5 separate regions of the Homo sapiens genome follow, and all the other regions are linked to region 5. Evidence: promoter capture Hi-C in 16 types of primary human blood cells and fetal thymus (Javierre and others, 2016). All regions are on one chromosome and are shown on one strand. The core of a region is centred on a gene start or on the middle of the fragment in contact, and the rest is flanking DNA. Distances in the headings are between cores, read along the strand shown.

The links. Contacts are between HindIII fragments. The CHiCAGO score rates a contact against its expected background, and 5 or more counts as called.
Region 1: a fragment that was not itself captured here is called in contact with the fragment with the promoter of ADAMTS18 in region 5 in 1 of 17 cell types (endothelial precursors); the score reaches 6.2 in endothelial precursors.
Region 2: a contact is called between a fragment that was not itself captured here and the fragment with the promoter of ADAMTS18 in region 5, in 1 of 17 cell types (endothelial precursors). The highest score is 16.3, in endothelial precursors.
Region 3: a contact is called between a fragment that was not itself captured here and the fragment with the promoter of ADAMTS18 in region 5, in 1 of 17 cell types (endothelial precursors). The highest score is 15.3, in endothelial precursors.
Region 4: a fragment that was not itself captured here is called in contact with the fragment with the promoter of ADAMTS18 in region 5 in 1 of 17 cell types (endothelial precursors); the score reaches 8.5 in endothelial precursors.

Annotation. Positions count from the first base shown.
Region 1 is chr16:77,620,203-77,624,370 of GRCh38, reverse strand. No RefSeq gene overlaps it. Among named protein-coding and RNA genes, the nearest start is that of LINC02131, 31 kb to the right of the region's middle. The HindIII fragment of the contact is 1,594 bases long and covers 900-2,493 here.
Region 2 is chr16:77,574,747-77,578,909 of GRCh38, reverse strand. No RefSeq gene overlaps it. Among named protein-coding and RNA genes, the nearest start is that of LINC02131, 14 kb to the left of the region's middle. The HindIII fragment of the contact is 6,778 bases long and covers 1-4,163 here.
Region 3 is chr16:77,593,114-77,597,348 of GRCh38, reverse strand. All of the region lies in intron 1 of LINC02131 (long intergenic non-protein coding RNA 2131), which reads right to left. Among named protein-coding and RNA genes, the nearest start is that of LINC02131, 4.3 kb to the right of the region's middle. The HindIII fragment of the contact is 492 bases long and covers 1,757-2,248 here.
Region 4 is chr16:77,645,192-77,648,955 of GRCh38, reverse strand. No RefSeq gene overlaps it. Among named protein-coding and RNA genes, the nearest start is that of LINC02131, 56 kb to the right of the region's middle. The HindIII fragment of the contact is 5,695 bases long and covers 1-3,764 here.
Region 5 is chr16:77,432,897-77,436,640 of GRCh38, reverse strand. ADAMTS18 (ADAM metallopeptidase with thrombospondin type 1 motif 18) reads left to right here and starts at 1,607. Exons shown (of 23, transcript NM_199355.4): 1 at 1,607-2,035; 2 at 2,136-2,223. The coding sequence starts at 1,946. RefSeq lists an enhancer at 1,411-1,911. The HindIII fragment of the contact is 7,514 bases long and covers 1-3,744 here.

The DNA.
Region 1 (4,168 bases), core at 447-2,946, 190 kb before region 5:
GCAGAGCTGAAATTTTAACCCACACTGTTTTCAGTTTCTTAACCACTTCCCGGCTTTGTACGGCAGCTGCCTGTGATACAGGTAAGAAGAAAGAAGCCCAGAGAAGGCTCTTTGCTTTCTTATCTCTACCACACGTTAATCCTGGATTTAAGACACCTGCTGTCCATCGCCTCACGACTTTAGCATTTTGTCTAATACAGTTTCTCTGCCACTAGGGCTCTTCCCTGTAGTGTCTTCATTTTGGTGATGAAACCATTGACAAAACTGTGAAATATAATGGGAGCTGACCCTACTTACAACTAACTGATCTTCAACAAGGCAGACAAAAATATACACTGGGGGAGGACACCCTATTTGATAAATGGTGCTGGGAAAATTGGTTGGCCACATGCAGAAGAATGAAACGATCTTTATCTCTCACCACATAGAAAAATTAATTCAACGTAGATTAAAGCTTAAATCTAAGAAACCATAAAAATTCTAGAATAAAACCTAGAAAACACTCTTCTGGACATTGGCCTAGGTAAAGAATGTATGGCAAAGCAAATGTAACAGAAGCAAAAATAGAGCTGGGTGCGGTGGCTCATGCCTGTAATCCCAGCACTTTGGGAGGCCGAGGCGGGCAGATCACAAGGTCAGGAATTTGCGACCATCCTGGTCAATATGGTGAAACCCCGTCTCTCCTAAAACTGTAAAAATTAGCCGGGCGTGGTGGCAGGTGCCCTGTAGTCCCAGGTACTTGGGAGGCTGAGGCAGGAGAATCGCTTGAACCTGGGAGGCGTAGGTTGCAGTGAGCCGAGATCACGCCACTGCACTCCAGCCTGGGCGACAGAGCGAGGCTCTGTCTCAGGGGGAAGAAAAAAAAAAGGCAAAAATAAATGAGAGCTAACTAAAAAGCTTCTGCACACGAAAAGAAATAGAGTAAACAGCCAACCTAAAGAATAAGAAAATATTTGCAGACTGTATCTCCAGTAAAGTGCTCATATCCAGAATCTACAGGAAACTCAAATCAGCAAGAAAAAAAAAATCCCATTAAAAAGGGGACAAGTGACATTTACAGACATTTCTCAAAAGAAGATACACAAATGGCCAATAAACATATTAAAAATGTTCAGCATCACTAATCAGGGAAACGCAAATTAAAACCGCAATATGATGCCAACTTTACCCCAGCCAGAATGGCCATTATTAAAAAGTAAAAAAAAAAAACAAAACCAAACAAACAGTAGATGTTGGTGTACATGTGGTAAAAAGGGAATCCTTATATATTGCTGGTGGGAATGTAAATTAATACAACCACCATAGAAAACAGTATAGAGATTTCACAAAGAACTAAAAGGAGATCTACCATTTGATCCAGCGATCATACTACTGGGAGTCTACTCAAAAGAAAATAAGTCATTATATAAAAAAAGACACCTGTGCATGCATGTTTATCACAGGCCAATTCACAATTGCAAAGATGTGGAATCAACCTAAGTGCCCATCAGCCAATGAGTGGATAAAGAAAATGTGGCATATACCATGGAATACTACTCAGCCATAGAAAAAGAATGAAATAATGTCTTGTGCAGCAACTTGGTTGGGAGGTCATTATCCTAAGTGAAGTAACTGAGGAATAGAAAACCAAATACCACATATTCTCACTTACAAGCGGGAGCTAAGCGGCATATAGAGGGGTATAATGAACATTGGAGACTGAGAAAGGGGAAGGTTGGGAGGGAAATAAAGGATGAAAAACCACCTATTGAGTACAATGTGCACTGTTCAGGTGACAGGTACACTAAAAGCCCAGCACCGGTATACAATTCGTCTGTGTAACCAAAAATGCCTTGTACCCCTAAAGGTAGTGAAATAATTAGAAATGAATCAATCATAAAAAATAAAGAGGGATGACTTTGCTTTGAAAGGAAATATACCCAGTGTCTTAAGTCCTGATTTGAGTTTCTGAGTATCTCTTTTGCTGTTATTGCCAACTTATGGGTTTTATTTCTTGGGGGAGTGACAGTATCTCCCTTTACCCCAATCTAGTTTTTTTAAATTTTATTTTTTACATCAACATTAAAATTGACTTTTTTTTGGTGTAAACTTCTGTGAGTTTTAACACATGTGTAGATGCATGTAACCATGACCACAATCAGGATCTGAAACAGTTCTTTGTTCCCCTTAAATTATCTAATGCTGCTGCTTTGTAGTAATATCTCCTCCTCCATCCTTAACCCCTGGAAACCACTGATCTGTCCTCCATTACTGTAGTTTTGCTTTGCTCCAGAATGTTATATAAAAGAATCCTACATTATGCAACCTTTTGGAAACTGTTTTTTTTTTCCAATCAGCATAATGCCTTTGAGATTCACTCAAGTTGTTACACTGTATCAATAGTTTGTTCTTTTTTGTTGCTGAATAGTATTCCACGGTATGAATCTATGGATCTCTTTATCCATTTAAGTATATTTAAGTTGTTTGAGGTTTTTGGCTATCACAGATAAAGCTTCTATAAACATTTGTGTACAGCTTTATTGAGGGAACTTCAAGTTTTCAGTTTGCAAAGATAAATACCTAGAAGTAGGATTGCTGGATCGTATGATAAATGTATGTTTAAATTTTTCAGAAACGACTGTGTTTAAGAACTTTTTGTGTAACCCCATGTAACAAAGTTTTTCTTCTTTTTTTTCTAAAAGTTTTAGAGTTTTATGTTTTGCAAAGGAGATCTCTGATCTATTTTGAGTTAATTTTTGCATAAGATGTGAAGTTTAGGTCAAGGTTTACTTTGTGCATATGGATGTCCGTTTGTTCCAATACTATTTGTTGGAAAAAATTTTTTCTCCAATGTGTTTTTTACCTTTGTCAAAAATCAGTTGGCCATATTTGTGTGGGTCTGTTTCTGGACTTTAGAAACAATTCCATTGTTCTATATGTCCAACTCTTTTCTGATTAGTGTCTGATTTCTGACATTGTCTTGATCATTAAAATTTTATAATGTCTTAAAATCAGAAAGTATGACTCCACCAACTTTATTCTTCACAATAGTTTTGATGGTTCTGTTCCCTTTGTTTTTGTTTATCATATACAATTTAAATTAAGTTTGTGCATAGCTACTAAATCTCTTTTTGATATTCTTGTTAGAAGTGCATTAAATCTACGTATCCATTTTGTGGAGGGGGATAGAACTGACATTTTAACAATACAAAAACTTCCAGTCTATGAATAGGGTACATTTCTCTATATAGGTGTTCTTTGATTATTTCATCAATATTTTGACATTTTCAGTATAGACATTCTGTACACTTACCCTTTTTATAATCATATAATGTTGCCTTTTATTTCTGGTAATTTTTTTCTGAAATCTTTTTCTGATTTTAATAGAGTCTCTTCAGGTATTTTTTGACTAGCATTTGCATGATATTTTTCTCATCCTTTTACCATAACCTAGAAATATCATTATATTTAAAGTGGGTAGATATCTTGTAGAGAATACATCCTTAGGTTTTATTTTTAAAAACTTTCTCTGACAATATCTGTTAAATAGTGTGATTAGACTGCATGTTTATGTGGTGGATTATTTTGGGCTTAGGTGTACCATTTTATCATTTTCAATTTGTTCTGTTTTTCATTTTTTTTGGTTTTACTCTTCTACTTATTTTTGGATTATTTGATTTTAATGCTGTAAATTATCTGTTGAGATTTTTTACTCTATTGCTTTATATAGTTTTTTTTTTATGTTTTAAGAGATGAGGTCTCAGTCAGTTGCCCAAGTTGGAGTATAGTAGCCATCATGGCTCATCACAGGCTTGAACTCCTGGGCTCCAGTGATCCTCCCACCTCAGCTTCTCAAACTACTAGGGTTACAGGTGTGAACCACCTCTCCTGGCCCATATCGTTGTTTTTTGTTTGTTTGTTTGTGTGTTTTTAAGTAGTTACTGCTCTAGGGATTATAATATACATACTTGTTACTTTCTACTCAATATTTTCAACTTTGAGTAGACTGGAGAAATCTAACTACAATATAGGTACTTTTACCTTTCCTCCTTTATGTTATAATTACTATATGTATTATATCTATATACATTGAAAATCCCATGAGTCAGTGTTAAAATGATTGCTTTAAACCATCATACATATTTGGCAAAATAATGAGAAGAATATGATGTTTACCCCAATATTTATC
Region 2 (4,163 bases), core at 790-3,289, 140 kb before region 5:
ATATATCTTCATCAACAGGGTGAATAGAAAGGAAAGGAAAACCGGCCCATGACCCTGAGGGATAAAGGCAGAATCAAGTGATAAACATAGAAATAATAGGTAAGAAAGTGCTTTATAACATTTCTCGACATCTAAATGTTTAAATTTGGATTATTCCTGTTTTTAAGGACATGTTGGTCAGGATAGACTATGTAATGGTACAATAACAAGTGCCACACAATTCAGTGGCTTTACCTAATAAAAACTTGATTTTCTTTTTCCTGATTCTAAACGTCCAGTTGGTTGGCAAGATTATTGGTGATGGGGCAGGGGTCTCTGTCCATTGCAGTCATTTAGAGACCCAGCGTTTGATGAAGGTTTCATATCAGCATAGGTGTCTATGATCTCCGTGGCAGGTAGTAAAGCTGTGCACTGGCTCTTACAGCTTCTCTCTGGAGGGCACATTATCACTTCCCATCACATTTCATTGGCCAAAACAAGTTGCATGCCTATCTTCAAAAAGGTCAGAGTGGGGTGATCCCATCATATGCCTGGAAAGTGGAAAAAGATGAAAAATTTGTGTACAGCTGCAATGTCGTGGAATTCTTTTTCTTTCTTTTTTTTTTGTTTGAGATGGAGTCTTTACTCTGTCACTCAGGCTGGAGTGCAGTGGCACAATCTCAGCTCACTGCAACCTCCACCTCCCAGGTTCAAGCGATTCTCCTGCTTCGGCCTCCAGAGTAGCTGGGATTACCAGTGCATGCCGCCACACCTGGATAATTTTTATATTTTTAGTAGAGATGAAGTTTTACCATGTTGGCCAGGCTGGTCTTGAACTCCTGACCTCAAGTGACCTGCCAGCCTCAGCTTCCCAAAGTGTTGGGATTACAGGCATGAGCCATTGTGCCTGGTCTAATATCTTCTTCTTGTATTTTCCATAGAAATACTGCCTGCCTGCTAGAGAGTCAAAGTGAACATTTCCTTTTGTGAAATCATGCAGTATCATAACTATAAATCCTATTTAAAACTCAATAATCCCATCCCCAGGTGTATATGTATATGTATATGTATATGTATATGTATATGTATATGTATATATATATATCCCAGAGAAATTCTCTCACAGATCTGCTAGAATGAACAACAAGACCCTGTTTGTTTTAGCAAGGAATTGGTGTCTCTTATTTCCCTGGAGACAGAAAACTAGGCTGAGTCAGGAGGATCAGCTGGGCCCAAGAGTTCGAGACCAACCTGAGCAACATAACAAGACTCTACCTCAAAAAACCCTATGTATATGTTTTTTTTGTTCTGACCTCTGGAACTGGAAGATAATATACTTGGATGGTGTAAGTCACTAAATTTGTGGCAGTTTGTTATAGCAGCAATAGGAAATGGGCACCAGTGCAATGCATTATTCTCTATTAACTCATTAGACACACAATGGACACACAGTATGGAATACTGTGATAGGCAGAATAATTCTTTGTCTCTTCCCACCATTATACACACACACACACTCTCCACATTCTAATTCCTGGAGCCTATGGATGTGTTACCTTACATGGAAAAAGGGTGATGATTAGATGGAAGTAAGGCTGCTAATAAGCTGATTTTAAAATAGATTATTCTGGATTATTCTTGTAGGCCCATGTAACCAGGGTCCTTAAATGTGGAAGAAGGAGACAGAAAAATTAGTGTCAGAGTGATGTGGCATGAGAAAGACTTGGCCTGCCATTCCTAGCTTTGAAGATGGAGGAAGGGGCCACAAGCCAAGAAATGTGGGAGGCCTCTAGAAGCAAGAAAGGGCAAAGAAATAGATTTTTCCCTAGAGCCATAGAGTTTACAAAACAGAAGATTTTCTCCTAGGAAGGAATGAAGCTCTGCCAATGTCTTGACTTTAGCCCTTAGTGAGATGCATTTAGTGAAACTTTTGATTTAGTGAGATGCATTTCAGACTTCTGACCTGGAGAGTTGGAAGATGATTCATTTGTATTGTGCAAGCTACTAAGTTTGTGGCAATTTGTTACAGCAGCAACCAGAAATGGATACAAATACTATACAGCATTCTGTATTAATTCGTTAAACACATAAGATACAGCAGGCTGTACAGATTGTATAAAAATTCTAATTAAGAGGCTGGGCATGGTGGCTCACGCCTGTAATCCCAGCACTTTGGGAGACCGAGACAGGTGATACCCTGAGGTCAGGAGTTGAAGACCAGCCTGGCTAACATGGTGAAACCCCATCTCTACTAAGAAATACAAAAATTAGTTGGGCCGGGTGGCGGGCGCCTGTAGTCCCAGCTATTCGGGAGGCTGAGGCAAGGAAAATTGCTTGAGCCCAGGAGGCAGAGGTTGCCATGAGCCAAGATCATGCCACTGCACTCCAGCCTGGGCAATAGAGCGAGACACCATCTCAAATAAATAAATAAATAAATAAATAAATAAATAAATAAATAAAATAAATAGAAAAAAGAAAAGAAACAGGATATGATTTTGAACACAAAACCTTCAATGTAAATTTAACACACATGCGCATACATATACATAAAGCACAAAATTTATAATATTACAAGCATATTTAAGGATACATACTGAAAATTGTATAGTACGGTTTATGGGGTAGAAAATGGGAGCAGAAATTAGAGATAAAAGGAAGCGGTGGGGGGAAGCTAAAGATCTTGCATGGACCAAGAAGGAAAGTAAGTTAAATTGAGTGTGATGTAACATAAACTTATTTTTCTATTTAAGGTGCACATGGTTGAGCTCTAGGGCTTTTTAAGACACTGTGAATCTCAAATTATTTGCATGACTTGAAAGGGCACTTTGAATTAGTGAAAAGTCTTGGGAATACCAAAAAAAAAATTTTTTTTTTCTTTATGAATGTGTACCCCACTGCTAGGCATATATTCATGAGTTTGGGGACAATGTCTTTCTTCCACCATTATGGCTCCAGCACCTGGTGTGGTGCCTGACACCTGGGAGGTGCCCTGAAAATAACTGCACAGTGGTTAAATGAGAGACTGAGTGATCAAATGACACTGGGCTAGCGAGTGAGTGAATGTTCAGATTCAAGACAAAACTAAGAAGTGGAGTTGTTGATTGCCGGATACTTTTGATCAATTTATCGATTTATACAAGCCCTCACCAAGCACCTACACAGTACCTGACATGAAGTTATGTGTTGTTGGGGATTTAAAAAATAAGTGAATGTATACTGTGCTATGTGTACATTCTGTTACCTGTCTTCAAGGGTGGCTTAAAATGCAAGTAGAAAACATCTTTCACACAGGAGATGATGTGGATGAAAGCCTCAGAATAAGAGCAAAAGGAACAATGATAAAGTTAGGGTGACAAAGAACGTTCTAGGGGTTACGTACAGTACTTCACTGTACCAGCTCCTTTAAGTGCTCACTTGGAGTATTTGAATTAATATTCAACTTAAGGAAACCCCTTTCGTGTGGCCTGCCTGACTTTGCCAGAGCAAAGTGACATTGGGAAAACAGAGGGCACTTCAGAGTGACGGGGAGAGGAAGGAAGGGGGTAATGACGGCTTGTGTGGTAGGGGAAAGGCAGGTTGCCTTAGAGGACAACCAGCAGCTGTTCCCTGCCCCTCTCTGGCCCTGGCCTGCAAAACCCTGCAGCTGAGTCAGGGGTAGCTGATACTCAGGCCGCTGGGCCATTTCTGCTTCACCTCTTCACCAGTTGGCCTTTGTCAGGCAGCTCTGATGAGCCTGGCTGCCTGGTACGTTTTCCTCTTGGAAAGAATGGGGGGAAGTTGACCTACTCCGCCGATAAGGAGGGAGATCTGCTTCCTCGGCCACAGCCCTTGGCAGGTCCCCTCCAGGATTTCCCTGGGCCGTCTGAGCACCGTGGGGAGATGAGAGGTCAGGCGTGGGCTGTGTGGAAAACTCTAAAATCTCCACAGCAACCAGGGCCACTGAAGGGAGAAAAAAGTCCTCTGGTGATTAGCCAAGATCTTTACTCTTCATTAGTCATCTGGACTTAGACACTCTTTCCATCTGGGGAAAACTGTGTTATTGTCAAGGAGCCTCACTAGCTCATTTCTTCATCTTGCATCTCCTGAGCACCTTGGAAATCCAGGAATTCTTTGTTAGGCTGGTCTAAGGTTTTGAAATGGGCAAACAGACAAGCAACCCCCTCAGCCCCTGCCAAAAAACAAAC
Region 3 (4,235 bases), core at 753-3,252, 160 kb before region 5:
TCCCTCCATCTAGTAATATATCAATAGATTCAATTCAGCATGTCTTAAACCAGACTCATATATCATCTGGTCTCTGCCATTCCTAAATTAATACTTTTCTTTAACTTCTCTTTTTCTCAGTGGTCATATCATAAGTTCTTCCAACAACTGAGTTTACAATTTTAGGGTGGTTTTTTATGATGCATTGCCTCTTTGACAATATCCATATAACCTCAAAAGTCTGTTAATCATGCTTCTTCAGTATCCCTCTGAAAGAATTTTTATTTCTGCTGATGTCATTGAGTTCATATTTTATTCTCCTGTATTCTCCTCTTATTCCAAATGTGCAAGATGGCTCCCTAAAGTGATCTTCCTGTCCCCACCGTTCTTTCCCCTGATCACATCATGCTCGGACCAATATCTGAAAGCAAGAATCTTTGTAAGTCATTACGTTGTTAAATGACATCTCTATTGGGTGTAGAATAAAGCCCTGAAGATTCAGACTGCAGCCAGTGTCTTTGCCTTCTTTTACCTTACCTCACCTGCCTCCAATAAATGTATTTCCTCTACACAGATTAGTCCTCTAATTATTTCGCAGACACACCAGGAGTCTTTATTTTCCATTCTTCTTTATGATGATTTTATGAGGCTTACTGCATTCCTCAAAGACAAATTTTCATCCACTCCCTTATGGCATTATCCTGACATCCCAGTCATGGAGATTTTACCTTTTCTTTCAAAGCATTTACTTTGACATAACTTATGTAAACTTATGTTTAGTATCTTTGTGCATGTCTTGCCTCCCAGCCACACTGTAACTTTATCAAAATCAGGAAATGAGTCTTTAATATTCTTGTACCACATCAGAAGGCTTGGGAAACAGGAAATGCTTGGGAATTGAGGAATTGAATCTGTAATATTCTTGTGCCACACCAGAATGCTTGGAAATGCATCAAATTTGTAGAGATAAAATGATTCATAATCTCTTTCATAAGAGCAATTACCATGAATTATCCTAAGTATACTTGTTTACTTTTCTTTCTCTGTGGTTTCACCCATATTGGCCAGAATATGCTTCATGAATTAAACAGGAAGTATTGAACATAAAGTTTTATAAACCAATCCAAAAATTTGATAGCAAGGAACTATTGCAACTTGGGGTAAAATCTTTATAGGCTTCCTTTTTATCTATTTCTTAACAGCACACGTTTTGTGTATTGAAAATCCTGTCTCAGTTACATCCATATAATTATATTCATTAATGGATTAATGCAATGTTGATTGACTGTTTCTTTCAGATTCGTCTTAAATGGTAAGCAAAACTCTTAAGAGACTGGGATTCCTAATGGCATAACTAGCTTCTCAAAGTTTCAGTATATATCATTGGATCTCAAAAGTACTCTTTGATTGACATTATGAAAATATTTACAATAAAAAAATGAAAAATAACTATAATAAGAAAAAGTAGGGGAGTAACTAAGTAATGTCTGGCATATCCACATCACATAACACGGTATTTTTAAATCTTAGCTAAAATTTGTTAAATCATACTGAGTTTTTAATGACACAGATGCATGCCAGCTTTTTGCTGTTGTGCAACTTTTCCATCATTACAGATTGTTGCACTTGACAATGCTGATCTTGGAAATTATTTGAAAGAAATCTGAAAACAATTCCTTTTTCTCAAAAGTATGCCACTGTGTCTTCCCCATTTATATGTGACATCAGTAAGCAAAATGGCAAATTGCATTACACCCTTGTTCAGCACTCTCAAGCTTGGATTATATAGTGACACTGCTACTTCTTTCATTGCTCTGCTATTTCTGTAACAGTTATCACTGACAAAGAATGTTATTTACTTCAGAAGTTACTTCCTATCTTTGATAAATATCAATTGTTTTTCTCAAGGATATCAGTTATGGAGATAACCATAGCCAATAAAAACCACTGCTCTGTATGAAATGCTCACTGTATGCTAGAAAATACGTGGCTGGTATCAAGTGCACATGCGGTGTCACAAAAATAACAGTTTCAACTTTTGCATAGAATGAGTAATGGCAATTCTCCTCCCAACACACTGTACTCTACCTAGACTCTTTAGTGGTGTGCAATTCATCAGGACTTTTGAGGCACATGGCAGAAGGCAGCATTTCATTTTGATTGCTGGATGTAGTTTCCAATGAAAATTAAAGATTAATGATGTGAGTATGTAAAAGTCAATAAGAAGAAAAGGCCAGGACTCTAAAACATTTGTAAACAGTGTAAAGCTTTGTACCAATCAAATGGCTGCAGACAGGGAAAGCTAATACCGACGCAATAAAAACCGAGCGCTAACCTTTCATTGTGTCTGGTGCTGAGCTTCTAGCATTTGATGAATGGCTACCTTGTGCCAGTGGGTCATTTGGGAGTGTCTGGGTCTTTCATGTGGTTGAGACAGCTGTGGGCAATCTGTGGATATGGATCACCCTGCTGAGAGACGCAGCTACGTGTGAAGGCAACACTGCACTTAGGAGGAGTCAAAAAATAGATTAATATCAAGTACCAATTTACAACGTGGATGAAATCTTTGTGGGATTTTCAACTCAACAGAAATTGTCTCATTGGCTTTTGATGTCTCCTTGAAATGAGATCATTTTGTCTCCAAGCTGGTATTTACATGTGGGTAATTAGGTTTCCTATTCATCACTTCCATCATCCTCATAAGTTGTATGAGATAGGTGTTGCTTTTGCTGCCTCATCTTCTTACAAAGGCTCAAAGAAGCTCAGTAACTTGTCTAAAGTGGCAGAGCTAATAAATTGCTGAGCTGGGACCTGAACCCAGGTCTGTCTGATTCCATAGCTTGAGCTGTCATGCAATGGAAGGTGAACTGTAGCATTTGGTGAATGTAAAACTTCCTGTTTGCTTATATTAAAGGCTATTGCTATTTTTTTTTTAATTAGGGGAGACTGGGTGGGGGGAAGGGTAGAGTGTGTCTCAATTCCGAAATTCAAAAAGGGCCACATAGGAATCTCTATTCCTCTTGCCCTTTTGGCATAATATCCCCAGTTGTAGCAGGAACCAGTAGAATGGGTTTCCCTTCATTGTTTTTGAGAAGGAAATGCCTGTTGAACTTTGACAACAATGTTAACGATTGCCAGAGACCCTCAATTTATTATTCATCTCTCAGGAATCCTATGGAAATTTCCTTTGAATACTCTTTCCTCATCAATATTAATAATCGCATGATGTCGTGCATGCTTTGTGTTCGTCAAAATGCCATTGTGCATGTGACCTCATTCCATCTTTAATATTTTATTGGAAGCTTTCTACATGTTAAGCACTGTGTTAGATGCAGGAGATATCAAAAGATGTATAGCACAACTTCTTCCTCAAGAGTTGAGTCTGAACTCTAACCTGATGTCATGAAGTAGACCAGATACCTTCCCCATTTTATACACTATTATTTTCCACAGCATAACCTTCTGTCCTCACCTTCTACAAGTTCCTTGTCATATTTTTTACTCTATCAGTGTTATTTTTTTCAGGTTGGTTTGTTTGTTTATTTGTTTTTAAACAGATAGTCTTGCTCTGTTGCCCAGGCTATTGTGCAGGGGTGCAATCATAGCCTACTGCGGCCTCCAACTCCTGGGCTCAAGCAATCCTCCTGAGTAGCTGGGACTACAGGTGCATGCCATCACGCTCAGGTAATTTTAAAACTATCTTTTGTAGAAATGCTGTATTGTCCCAGCTGGTCTGAAACTCCTGGCCTCAAGTGATCTTCCAATATTCTTATATTTACTCCTCCTTAAATATTAATGAGCAACTAAACATTCTCACATTCATCTCCAAGGTTTTTCTCATGCTTCATCTCTTCTTGACCTACTTTTCTGTATGTCCATATTGGACCCATCCATAAACCAAGGTAGAGTCTCCTCTCCTCCTTGACAGCTATTCAGGAATCAGGCAACCTCTCCCCTCTTTCAATTTTCACTTCAGTTATTGTCACCATCTTACATTTGATACTTGGAATATAGTGTACTTTGATATAAACACATTTTTCTTCTGTATGTAATTGGTCTCATGGCCTATCTATAAATACAGAAAGATCATCGATAGGTATTCTAAATAAATAAAAGTACTGTGCAATATGCATGATATTTGCTAAAAAGAATACTAGGAATAATGTGGAGCTTGTAAATTGGAGATCGCTGCCAGATTTAATACCAAAATATGTATTGTTGAGCTAGTAAAATACTGGCATACATAGTTTTTCAAA
Region 4 (3,764 bases), core at 25-2,524, 210 kb before region 5:
GAGGCAAAGGCAGGTGGATCACTTGAGGTCAGGAGTTCGAGACCAGCCTGGCCAACATGGTGAAACACTGTCTCTATTAAAAATACAAAAAATTAGCTGGGCGTAGTGGTGCATGCCTGTAATCTCAGCTACTCAGGAGGCTGAGGCAGGAGAATCGCTTGAACCTGGGAGGCAGAGACTGCAGTGAGTCGAGATTGTGCCACTGCACTCCAGCCTGGGTGACAGAGACCTCACAATCCCGGAGGAAGGCAAGGAGGAGCATGTTATGTCTTACATGGATGGTGGCAGGCAAAGAGAGAGAGGTTATGCAGGGAAACTCCCGTTTTTGAAATTGTCAGATCTCATGAGACTTACTCACTGTCATGAGAACAGGACGGGAAAGACCTGCCCCCATGATTCAGTTATCCTATCGGGTCCCTCCCACAACATGTGGGAATTCAAGGTGAGATTTGGGTGGGGATACAGCCAAACCATATCAGCCATGGACAAGACAGATTCAATCCTTGTCTGCATGGAACTTAAATTTCTGTGAAGAGATGATCACATACGTAATTAGTAAATTACAATTGCAGCAAGTGACATAGAGGAAGAATGTTAAGAGTGTCCAGCTCCTAACTGGTACTGGGCCAGGCTTTCATGAGAAAGGAAATTCAAGTTGAGACCTGAATGTAAGTAGGTTAGTCCTGGCATACCTATTTTAAGTGCCATGTTTCCTTGTACTTTTAATAAAAACAGGAAAAGATGTGGACCCTTTAGGGTGCTTGAACCTGTAAGCTGCACGCACCAATGAGATTCTTGGTGCAGGTATAAAATGTCTTGATACAGATCTTCATGATGGAAGGTGTTACCCACATGTATGTTGCTAATATCAGCTCTTGCTTCTGCTGACTTCACCAACTGCCTTGTTAGTTGGCCTTAGGTTGCCTGGGTTATTCTTATATTCTGAAAATGTGCTTCATTTTCTCCAAAGCAATGACTTGGAGGAGACCAGAAATGATGCTGTGGTAAGAGAATGACATAGGAATGTAGAACTGAGGGCTGAGACTCTGGCTGGAGATCACTCGGCCTGCCCACAAATCTAAAAATGCACAGTTTGACTGTAGTGCTGGAAAATATCTCCTAATGTCTTGGCTTCTGTCAACAGAAAAGAGAAAGTTAAAATCATGGATGGCAGCAATTTTATTAATTCAGGAATCTTAGCACTCTAACACTGCTCATTTTGCCCTAATGATTAAAAAAAATCATTTCACAGTGAATTTGTCTTGAACAATGTGCAGCTTATTGGAAAGGGAAGAAAAGAGGGAAGGGGGAGCAGAATTACAGATTGAGGGCACATCGGGGACTCTTGAGAAATACTGTTGTTCTTCTGGGAGACAAAGCTGGAGTGGGCTTAAACGCTTGTCTGTTGATGCCACTCTTGTCATTTTTCATTGCATATTGCTGTGCTGATCTGATTGTTGGATGCCTTTTCTTAGTATGTGGAAGCATCTGCCAAGGTTGATCCAAGGAACTTGGAATTGGGCTGAACCTGTTCATCACTATGATCCAGACATCTCAGCTGCCTTCAGTTTTCTGATTGAAAAGCTCACATTTTTGCCTGTGTGGATAAGTTGACCCCCCAAGGGGGCTTTCAATTAAGTACAAAGCCAATAAAATACCAGCCACTGAGGAGAAAGGGTGACCTCATATTGAAGTCTTCTATATTTTCTTTTATAAAGACATGAAATAGGGCTGGATATGGTGGCTCACACCTGTAATGCCAGCACTTTGGGAGGCTGAGGTGGGAGGATTGCTTGAGCTCAGGAGTTTGAGACCAGCCTGGGCAAAAGAGCAAGACCAGGTCTCTACAACAACAACAACAACAACAAAAAAAAAAAAAAAAAAAAAAAAAAAAAATAGTTGGGTGTGGTAACATTCTCTTGTACTCTCAGCTACTTGGGAGGCTGAGATGGGAGGATCACTTGAGCTCAGGAGGTCAAGTGGGAGGTCACTTGAGCCCAAGGCTGCAGTGACCTGTGGTCATGCCACTGCACTCCAGCCTGGGCCACAGAGTGGCAGAGAAAACAAAAGTAACATAGTAGATCTGCTGAGATCTTCAAGGTATCTCTTTCACTGCAAATTCTTTTCACAGGTGACATTTATCTTTATTCAAAAACATTACCTGAGCATCTAAAATATGCATGGTTATGGGTTGGATGTGGTGAGTAGTACAAAGACACGTAGACCTATTTCTCCCAAGAGCTTCCTGAAGGCAGGAAGTAAAGCAAACACAGATCACTGCATTATGAGGTTAAGGTAGATGTTCTTACAACAGAAAACCTATCTCAATGACCTGTCACTTGCCAGGCTATATATGGGGCTCAAAAGACCTCAGAGTTGTGGTCCGAGAAATGCTATCCAAGCACTCTAGGGTTTGGGGCAGCAAGAATTCCCTTCTGGCTACAGAAATGGAAAGGTTCCTTGGAGGTGGGGCCCTTGAGCTGGGTTTCAAAAAATGGAAAGTGTTTTAATGGACAGAGATGGTGAGTTGGGTAATTTGAAGGTGAGAATATGGCCTGAGCAAAAATAGGGATGAAAAAGATTTGCGTGTTTGGCAAAGGGTAAGTGCCCAGCCTGGCTGGGAAGAACTTTGCTACAGAGCAGTGGGTTATCTTTGTCATACAACTCTCTCTGTTTTTTGAATGTTGATTAAGATATCACATAAATTAAAAAAATACAAATCACATTCACAGCTCATGGAATTTTCACAAACTGTATACACCTATGTAACCAACACCCAGATCAAGAAAGTGAACGTTAAGTGTCTCTAGAAGATTCCCTCACTCACTTTCCATCCATCCCTCAAGGTAATCTTCCTCCTGACTTCTAACAGCATAGATGAATTTTGCTTGTTTTTGAATATGATATAAAAGGGATTACACAGTGAGTGCTTTTAAATGTGTCTGGCTCCCTTGCTGTGTATCACAATTGTGAGTCATCCTGTTGTTGGGTGTAGTCGTAGTCTGTCTGCTTTTATTACCATGCAGCATTGTACTGTGTGACTGTACCACCATGTTCTTACCCATTCCACTTTTGTTGGCATTTGGGTCATTTCCACTTTGGGGGAAATTGTGAATATGCTGCTATGACTGTTACTGCACAATGTCAATTATTGATGAGCGGATTGATGCATTTCTGTTGAGTAAATATCTAGGAATGGAATTTCTGGATTGTAGAATTGAAAATCCCCTTTTAATGACAAATACCTCTATCCCACATGATTCTAATTATACTTTTAATATTCCTAGGTTTGAAAATATACAATGATAAATATCTTGTGAATTCAATAACATTTTAGAATCAACTGGTATATGACTAATTACAGAAATATCTTGATATGTGCATGATGTATTTTGTCTGCAGACAGGGGTTAGTGTGCATATGGACACGCAGATCCCATGCAACAACTGAGTCCCCAGTTGGGAGCCATAGACTTAGGTAAATGGTGAGGTGTGAGGCCAAGGAGCAATCATCAGTTTAGTTCCCTAGCATTTTCATTGTTCTAGGCCAAGACTTTAGAGAAATCTAGTGGGAGTTTCCCCCTACATTTTTTGTTCTTCCATGAGAAACCACATGTGCTCCCTAACTATAACTGTTGCATTGTTAGGAAGATAGTATAGTCAAATGGAATAATGACAACCATTGGAGAGGAATCTGGGTTTGAACCCTAAACCTACCACTTATTGTATGACTAGGTAAGAAATGAATTGTCTATGAGCCTCAAT
Region 5 (3,744 bases), core at 358-2,857:
CTATGTGTATTGAGCTATCACTTAATCGAGGCTTGACATAGACCTCATGTTAACTACTTCAGTACCCACAGGACTGAGCAGAGTAATACATCTACTTCCACTACCACTACCCTGGTCCAAGCAAGACACTGTCATTGTACCCCTTCATGCCAGCAACAGCTGCGTGGTTTGTTTCTCTCTGACCCTGCCTCAGCTCGTCCAATCCCTACACTCGCTCAAAAAATGGTTCACATTTTTTTATTATTGGATATGATGTTGCCTCCTACACATACACAAACCCACATTCATTTAAATCTAATGGTTTCCAACATGCTTCGCCCCAGCTTACAAGGTCCAGCTGACCCAGCAACTGCTGTGTTTGCTTCTTCCTCTGGCCTGTAACACTTTTCACGTGGCAATCACTTAACTACCTTGAGACCTTCACTTATGCTGTGCCCCCTGTCCTAACATGCAAGATCCTACTCCCCTCTTCCCTTATAAAACCGATCCACTCTCTCTGGCCTTATTTTAAGTGTCAGCTCCTAACAGATGCCTTGCACGTGTATGTATGCGTGTGTGTGTGTATATATATGTGTGTGTGTATATATACACCCACACACACACACACACACACACACACACACACACATCTTATCCCATCTAAATTAGATTCTGCTGCCATCTAATTTAGGAGACTATTCTTTTCCTTTTTAGTATTTGTGTTCATTTTGCTTCTATTACCGTTGTCGAGCTATCCAATCAGATTCGTTTCCACTGGCCCGTGAGACTGTATTTTGTTCACCTCTGCAAACAGGGATCAAAGGATCAAATAAATGTCTTGAGTAAACGAACAGGCACACAGCAAACTGGATGCACATTCCTAGTGATGGCGTGCGCTGTTTGTTATAACTGATTTCTGTGGGTTTGGGTATCTGGGGCCAAGATTCAATCTCGAAGAGTGGGAAGCACGGTCACGTCAAGAAGAGAGAGAGAGATCCGGGAGAAGAGGGAGGCCCCCGCGTGCCATGAGTTTTTACATGCTGCAGACAGTGACAGCTCATTGTTCTGGTCCTCCCGGCTGCCTCAGATTTGCTGACTCTGGGAAGCTAGGTCAGCTTGTGCGCATCTGAGCCTCCTTTTCCTCATCTTTATCAAGGAATTAATAATTCCCACCTGAAAAAGGTAGGGCCTGAGGCAAATGCGATACAGCAGGGGATAGCTCCCAGCACTTAGGAGGTGTTGAGGACGCTATCTTGACTCTTTGCCAGAAGAGTTGAAAATGAGAAGTCTGCACAGGCAGCGAAAAAGTCGCGCCACTCACCTGAGCCTTTCGTCTTCCGAACTCATCTCCCAGTGCGCTTAAATTACGTTTTCCAAGCCTGACCCTGGGCGCTCCCCTCCTTCTCATGGCGGTCGGTCCCTCCCTCCCTATCACTCCCACCCAGCCTCCCCGCCCCCTTCGCCCCCTCCCTCAGAGCTGGAGCCGGGAATCCCACGCCCTTGCACCAGCCCGGGGGCTCGGACGAGCCCGGGAGCCGCTGGTCGCCAATCACCGCGCGGTGGAGAGGCGGGCGCTCGGCTCCGGCGCGCTGGGGGAGCCAGCTGGCGCTGTCTTCCCCATCGCCTCAGACGCTCACACCGACACAGACAGACGCACAGACGGGCGGGCAGACACCGACAGTCTCCCAACCGTTTGCGCTCCAGTCCCGGCCCAGGGAGCCCCCCGTACCCTCTGGGGTGCCGCAAACTGCAGCTCGGCAGGCCCGCGCCGGGAGAAGGGAGGGCGCGCAGGCGGCCGGAGGAGGGGAGGTCCCAGCGCGCCCCCGCTGCGATGTGAACGGCGGCGGCTCTCACCTGGAGCCGCACCTGGGGCGCCGAGCTCCGGGGCCGCGGAAAGAATGCGCGCCGCCCGTGCGCTCCGCCTGCCGCGTCTGGCCACCCGCAGCCGCCGCGTCCGCACCTGACCATGGAGTGCGCCCTCCTGCTCGCGTGTGCCTTCCCGGCTGCGGGTTCGGGCCCGCCGAGGGGCCTGGCGGGACTGGGGCGCGTGGCCAAGGCAGGTGCCGCCGAGCGGAGCTCCGAGAGCGGGTGGCAGGGGGCGCCCGACGCCAGCCCCGCCGCGCCCCTCACGCGCGATGTCACCTTTTCTCTTGCAGGCGCTCCAGCTGTGCTGCCTCTGCTGTGCGTCGGTCGCCGCGGCCTTAGCCAGTGACAGCAGCAGCGGCGCCAGCGGATTAAATGATGGTTCGTATTTGCCCCCCATCCCCAAGAAGGGCCTTTCGCAGCACTTTGACCCTTCCTTCCCCCAAAGAGAGAAAAGATGGAAAAGCGCACCCCCTAACCTGGCAGGTGTGCGCTGTCTTGGAAATGGTTCCTGTTTGGAGAGGGGGGAAGGTTGGCAAGGACTGAACTTATCAAAAGAATCAACGCCCCGAGCTGCAAGTCACATAAAAGCAAATACTCTCCCTCCTTCACAGGTGGCTTGTTAAGAAGAACAAGAAAAAAAAAAAAATCCTAACTGCAGTGAGAAATTCGAAGGGAAGTGGACATTAACTAAGGAATTACTTATTTCCTCCCTCTCCTAACTCTTGTTGGGGGAAGCTAATTCTTAGTGGGAGATGAAAGAATGTGAGCCTCTTTCCTCTCTCCATCTTTCCTCATTTTTCTCTCGACTTCTGTTCCTTTTCTATCTCTTCTTTTTTTTTCATTTCTGCTTCCCTTGTTTTACGGATGTCTAAGGCTGCTTTTAGAGAGAGGAAAGCAGGTGACTTCAGGTCTCTGAGTCCTTTATCTATCTTTTCTGACGTTCGCCAGCCACAAACTTCCAGAAAATCCCTCACTTCTGACATTTATTAACTTCCCAGTGGAGCCCAGAGGGAAATCCTTGTTTTGATTGTTTCCCATCAGCTACAGGAGAACAGCTGATTCCTGACGCAAGGTGTCTAGGAAAACCTTACAGCTCAACCTGGATTCTTTAGAATTCTGTAATTTTTAGTTTTGCAAGGTTATCTCCTTTTCTTGTCAGGGGAATGGGGAGTGGGGCAGGATGGAGTCATGGAGAAGGGATTCACCTTTTGTCCAAACAGAGAGGCTGCAGTTTCTAAAACCACCCCTCATTCTTATATCAGGATCAGATGGCTGGAGGCCACGTCCGACCCAGCCACAACCTTGTAAGGACCTCACCCTTACTCACCTCCTGAAGTGGTCAATCAGAGATCACTCTTTACAGGGGACACTGACTGCCCTTCTTCCATCAAGAACCGAATGTAACCGACAGCCTGTTATTCTCCCCTTGGAAACAAGCTGGTAGCAGGTGTCTGGGGCCGTTTGATGGCTGGTTCCATAGAAGGCTGGCTGGATAACGTTCCTACAGAGCCTTCCAAGTAAGAGCAGGCAGAGTTTCAGATGATTTGGGACAAGAAGGTGAGACACAGACTTCCTGCATATGTCAGGAATCTTTTTCATAGTTAAGTTTTAGTTTGACAGAAGGAGAAGGTAGACTTTCTCTAAGAAATTGCACATAATCAAGAGCCACATCCCTTTAAAGCAATGTATCAGATTTTTAAGAGAAGAAAAATATTGTATGTCTGGCTCAGATTTTCAAGGTTAAGAGAGGGGAAAAACTTTTCCCCCCATTATTGTAAAATATGTATGTCAATTATACAGCATTTTTAGTTAAAGGAGGGAGTCAAGAAGAAAAATGGGAGTGGGAGGACATAAAGAATATAAAAATGAAAGCTGCCCAAGGAATAAGTCACAGATGGT